Regions from separate parts of the Homo sapiens genome. Here region 2 is linked to region 1. Evidence: promoter capture Hi-C in human tissues and cell types (Jung and others, 2019). All regions are on one chromosome and are shown on one strand. Each heading gives the region's core, a stretch centred on a gene start or on the middle of the fragment in contact. The rest is flanking DNA. Distances are from core to core; before and after follow the strand shown. Region 1 overlaps CCDC183 (coiled-coil domain containing 183). Region 2 holds the start of EGFL7 (EGF like domain multiple 7).

Region 1 (2,700 bases), core at 77-2,576:
TCTCCTTGGGACCCTGGCTGGGGGCAGGTGGGGAGCTGAGCGCTTACATTTCAGGGTCTCCGTGCTCATCAGGTTCGAGGGGAAGTCCAAGTCCATCTGGCCCTGATGGGAGGTGGGGGCGGGGAAGGGATGAGACATCCTTGGCAGGGAGTGGGCCCTGAGTGGTGGCCCTGAGCCTGTGTCCACCCAGCTGTCATGGGGATGGGCAGCCAGCCAGGCCCTGGCCTGGGGCTTACCCGGCGGTACTTCTCGCTGGTCTCCTTCGTGTGGATCTTGTCGATCAGCTTCTTCTGCTGGTTGAGCCGGTTCTCCCTTGCCCGGCGCTCCTCGATGAAGGACGCCTCCCTTTGCCTCATGTTCCTCTGGGGACATGCGGGTGGGCACAGGGTTGGGGAGCTGTCTCAACAAGGCCCCTAATGGCAGTAAAGCCAGCGGGCGGTTGGCCATGCTCACCTTACTAGACTTTGGAACTGCATCCCCGGCCAATGGCCACACCCTTTTCCTAAACCACTTGTGCCCGTGGCCCCTCAGCTCACGGCCCTCCTTGCCCATGCCTCAGAGCATGTGCCAGCCCAGACGCTCTGCTGCCCTCCAGCCGCTGGCCCCCAGCTGCCTCCTGGCCAGGTCCACCTAGAACTCACGGAAGTGCATTCAGCCTGCCTGAAGACAGATTCATCCTCTTCCCCAAAACCTGGCCTCTTCCAGCGTGCCCTTGGGCAGCTAAAACCGTCATCTGCTAACCCCTGCTCACGCACCCCAGACACTGCTCTCACCCTCGCCACTCTCGTTGCCAGCGCTTAGTGGGGTTGCCTCTTGAGGAGTTCTCAGCTCCGTTGCTCCTGGCCACCCCTTCTCCACCCCGGGTATACCCAGGTGATCAGCGCTTCTGCCCTGGCACCTTCCAGTCCCTGCAGCCTGAGTACACCCTTTCTGAAGCACAGACCTGGTCACATCTTTCCTCCACCTCCTCCCAGGGCTCCAGGTCAGTCCTTGGGCCCCCAGCCCAGCCGCCTCCGTGGACTCCTGGGGCCTGTGCCTCTGCAGCCTCCACTGCCCTGGCCACACGCTGCTCCATGTATCACACCCCTCCCAGCCCAGGGCCTTTTCCCAAGTTGTACCTCCTCCTCCCTAGCCCTGGCCACACCTGACCTTTGCGGGTTCAATCCCTCAGCCCAGCTCAAGCACTGTCTTCCTGGAAAGCCATCTGCCACCCCACCTGTCTCTGCTGAGCTGGCTCAGGGGCTGTGTGGCATTTCTTCATGGACTACTGGATGAGTGCCACCCACTTCAGGAGGACAGGGTCTGCCTGTCCCGGTCCCTGCTGTATCCCCAGAGCCTTGCAGGGACCTTGGCACAGACTGGGTGAATAGGTGACCCCCGCCCTGGCCCGGCCAGTTCTCTCCCTCTCCTCTACTTCATGGCTCCTGTGCTGGATGGGACCTGCTCTGTCCAGTGGGTGAGCAGAGCAGGCTGGCCGGGCTGGCCACTGGATCCTTCTGGGGATTGTAGGCAGTGTGGGCATGGGGGTCTCCTGAGAGACCCTGGCCAGAAGACACAAGAGAGCCCGCCCTGGGGGGCCCCAGCCCTGGGCCCTGAGCTCACCTTGACCCCATCCGAAGATCCAAGAGGGCTGGCCCTGGGGGGCCCCCAGCCCTGGGCCCTGAGCTCACCTTGACCCCATCCGAAGATCCAAGAGGGCTGGCCCTGGGGGGCCCCAGCCCTGGGCCCTGAGCTCACCTTGACCCCATCCGAAGATCCAAGAGGGCTGGCCCTGGGGGGCCCCCGGCCCTGGGCCCTGAGCTCACCTTGACCCCATCCGAAGATCCAAGAGGGCTGGCCCTGGGGGGCCCCCAGCCCTGGGCCCTGAGCTCACCTTGACCCCATCCGAAGATCCAAGAGGGCTGGCCCTGGGGGGCCCCCGGCCCTGGGCCCTGAGCTCACCTTGACCCCATCCGAAGATCCAAGAGGGCTGGCCCTGGGGGGCCCCCAGCCCTGGGCCCTGAGCTCACCTTGACCCCATCCGAAGATCCAAGAGGGCTGGCCCTGGGGGGCCCCCAGCCCTGGGCCCTGAGCTCACCTTGACCTCATCCGTGATCATCATGGCATCTTGGGACATGATCTTCATATCCGACAGCTCTGAGCAGTAGTTGACCACGAGGTTCTGCAGCTTGTCCAGCTCAATGGGGTATCCTGCCAGCACCTGTGTTGAATGGGGTTCTCTTGTGGCCCCTACAGAGTGGGCTGCAGTTGCCCCGAGCTTTTATCCCCCGACTAAGAGCCCTGAGAACAGTGATAGGTTCTCCTCTGTGGCCCCAGCCACCTCCCCCACTCCCCGCTGGGCACAACGGTGATGAAAGGTGTTTCACAGGGAGTGGACAGTGCTGGCCTGGTGGACTCTTTCACCACCTAGGGTCCAACAACCCAGAGAGACTGAGAGAGTTTGTGATGAAATGCTCTGCAGAAAAGGCTGACTGAAACCCGGGGAGGTTTGGGGACAGTTCTGCTTTGAAGTGAAACAGAGGGGCTCAAGACATGGGCTTGGGGTCAGAGAGTCAGGATTCAAGGCCAAGGCAGCTTCTGACCAGCTAGTTTAGCTGTGTGACATTGGGAAAGTTACTTAATCTCTCTGTGTCCCCATTTGTAAGATGATGGCTCGTTCAGAAGGTTGCCATCAGGATGAATTGAGTGTAAAAGGAATTA
Region 2 (2,700 bases), core at 66-2,565, 140 kb after region 1:
CAGGGGCCCTGGAAGCCCCTGGCACGTGGTCCAAGGGACGACCAGAGCAGCTGCTGTCAGGGGGCGTTCCTCATCTGACTGGGGAGTCCTAGGCCTCCTGGCGCCCTGAGCCCACGCAGGGCAGCTCTTACCTAGCCCCCAGCAGTGAAGTGTTCAGAGTGGGGCCTAGGGGGCCTCTGGGTGGGAGAGCCACCGCCACCCTCCCTGTCCCCTGCCCCTGGCCTCATCTCTGGATCTGCGGTCACTTAACCCTTTGACCTGCCTCCCCACCTCTCCTGCCTGAGTCTGGAAGAGGCGATGGAGCAGAAAGGGCAGCTCCAGGGCTGCCCCGACTCAGCCCTCGCTGCCCCCATCCTGGCTAGGCACCATTTGGAAAGTGGGGGTTCTCAGACAGGCTTCTTGGTGTGGACGTATGAGACAAAAAGTGGGGCCTTCTAGGACCCACTGTGGTTTTGGGGGCTTTGGGATGGGGCTTCAGCCACTCTGCATGAGGCTGGGGAGAGGGAGAACAAGGGCGTCTCCAGGGTCCAAGGGGGGCCCACAGAGTCACCCATTTGCCCACCGCACCCAGCAAGTCATCCCTAAGCCCGAGCCCCACGTCCCGCACCCTGGATTCACACTGCTCATCCTGGCTACAGATGTGGCTTTGGGGTTCCTCTCCCTCGGGGCCAGTTCCCCTCCCCGGGCCCCCGTTGGGTTGCTCATCCACTGCTAGGGAGAAGATGAGGAGACCTCAGCCCTCGGGACACCGCAGGGCGTAGCGCGAAGCCCCTCACAGCGGGCCCAGCCAAGCTGAACTTTGCTGCCAACCACAGGGGCTGCTCTGCGGAGGGAGAGAAAGGCCAGAGGGTGGGGTTCAGGGGAAGGGCGACTGGGGGTGAAGTGTTGGAGTCAGCAGACTGGATTGGGATCTACGCTGGGCCACCCACTAGCAGGCGTTTGGCCAAGGGGCCTCAGTGGCCTCCTCTGTGCAGAAGGGGAGGAGACTGGGACCCCTCCCCTGTGACCTCGCTGGGGAGCAGATTGCGGAGCAGCCAGCAGGCGCCACGGTCAGCGGGAGTGAGGGGAATGGGGGGCCCGCCCTGTCCGCTCCCTGCCCCTCCGAGGCCACCCCTGCCATACCTGATGCTGCTGGAGCCCAGGCGTGGCCATGGTGGCCGCTGCTGTGTCCTGGGACTGGAGATGGACCCTAGCCCTTGCTGGGGCCTCAGGCCCACTGGCCGCCTGGAGGCACCTCCTGAGGCCCACCTGCCTGGCCTGTCCACAGGAGCCTCCCTTGCAGCCGTGCAGGGCCAGCTTGGTGCAGGGAGGCTCCCCCCGGGCGAGGAAGGGCGGCTTTTTATGCTCCGTCCTGGGTAATCGGGATTGGGATGGGCCCTTCCCAGCCGGACTTCCTGTGTGTGTTCTCCGCTGATAACGGGGACGTGTCGTCGGACAAACAGGAGGCTGAGGGGGGTGGGGGCCACCGTGTGAGGGGGCCTGGACAAACTGCCCAGGGGTGGGGAAGCCGTCCCCTGGGCCATCAGAGTCTAGCCCCAAAACAGCCAGAAACCAGGGCTGGACCCTGCTGGAGACCCTGGGGAGAGTGTGGGGTGGAGGACGCAAGCCCAGGGCCCTCCCAGGACCGTGGGTTCACAGGCCATGCTCACGTGTGGCTGGACAGAAGGGAGCTGCTGCATCTTTGGGCCAAGGATGCTGGGCCCTCCCCCAGGACACCCCCAGATGTGTGTGACACAGCACGGGAGCTTGGAGGGGCCCCAGGCCAAGGCAGGGACCAGCCACACAGGAGCCTTGACCAGTGAGGGATGGCGAGTGGCGAGGCCCGGCAGGAAGGGACTGGGGTGGCAAGACAGGCTGAGCGGTCCGAGAACAGCCTGTTCCGTGGGTCCCTGAGGCCCATGGTGAGGGGGTGACGGGAGGGGACAAGCATGGAGTCCAAGCTCTCTCCCCTAAAAGAGCTGCCAGTGAGGCTGTGAGCCCCTGCCCTGGAGATGGGCAAGCAGGCCCAATGCCCTCAGCCCCACTTCACAGGGGTGCTCTGGGCTGGCAGCAGGCTGCGGCCGGGGGTGTGGGGAGGGATGCGGGACACTGTGGGTGATCACAGGGGGTGCTCTGTCAGATTCCCGGCGTCCCAGCCTCCAGGTCTGACCCTCATCTTCCCTGTTCACACGGCAGTGGGAGCCTCAGGCCGAGCGAGCCACTGTGGCAAAGGTGGGCTGGGTGGGAGGGGACACGGTGCCGAAGGGAGCTGGGTGGCTTTGGAGGGCACGCCTGGAACCCCAGGAGAGCAGGGCCTCTCCCAACCCCGCTGTCCGTGGGGTGTGAGCCCTGCTTTGGGGTCAGCCCCTGTCGGCCTGATGCCTGGGACACCCCCATTTCCCTGGCCCTGGGCGGTCAGTGTGCCCCCACCTCTCCAGCCCCACTCAGCTGGGCAACTTGAGCCAAGGGAGGCTGGGGCAGCTGGGGAAATTCCCCACGGGACTTTGGAGGGCAGGTGGAAACCTCACCCACACGCGATGCGCCTCCCCCTCAAGCAGGAACCAGCTCCCCTCTACCCACGGCCAGGGGAAGGGTCTGCTCTGGGCGCCAGGCTGTGGTCAGGGCTCAGGGCCTCAGCCAGGCAGGACCTCACTCTTCTCCGGGCCTGTTTCTGCACCTGCTTCATGGTCACTGAGCTGGTTTAAGGGGGCGCTCCTGGCA

What was found. The method cuts DNA at HindIII sites, captures the fragments that hold promoters and counts their contacts. A contact is called where the count stands out against the background at its distance.
Region 2: a contact is called between the fragment with the promoter of EGFL7 here and a fragment that was not itself captured in region 1, in 2 of the 25 tissues and cell types used here (lymphoblastoid cells and mesenchymal stem cells).

Annotation. Positions count from the first base shown.
Region 1 is chr9:136,802,164-136,804,863 of GRCh38, reverse strand. It overlaps CCDC183 (coiled-coil domain containing 183), which reads right to left. Exons shown (of 14, transcript NM_001039374.5): 6 at 2,078-2,200; 7 at 237-362; 8 at 48-102. It overlaps CCDC183-AS1 (CCDC183 antisense RNA 1), which reads left to right. Exons shown (of 5, transcript NR_024580.1): 5 at 1-937. Among named protein-coding and RNA genes, the nearest start is that of RABL6, 4.4 kb to the left of the region's middle. The HindIII fragment of the contact is 7,702 bases long and covers 1-2,700 here.
Region 2 is chr9:136,661,531-136,664,230 of GRCh38, reverse strand. EGFL7 (EGF like domain multiple 7) reads right to left here and starts at 1,315. Exons shown (of 11, transcript NM_016215.5): 1 at 1,123-1,315; 2 at 608-823. The HindIII fragment of the contact is 17,984 bases long and covers 1-2,700 here.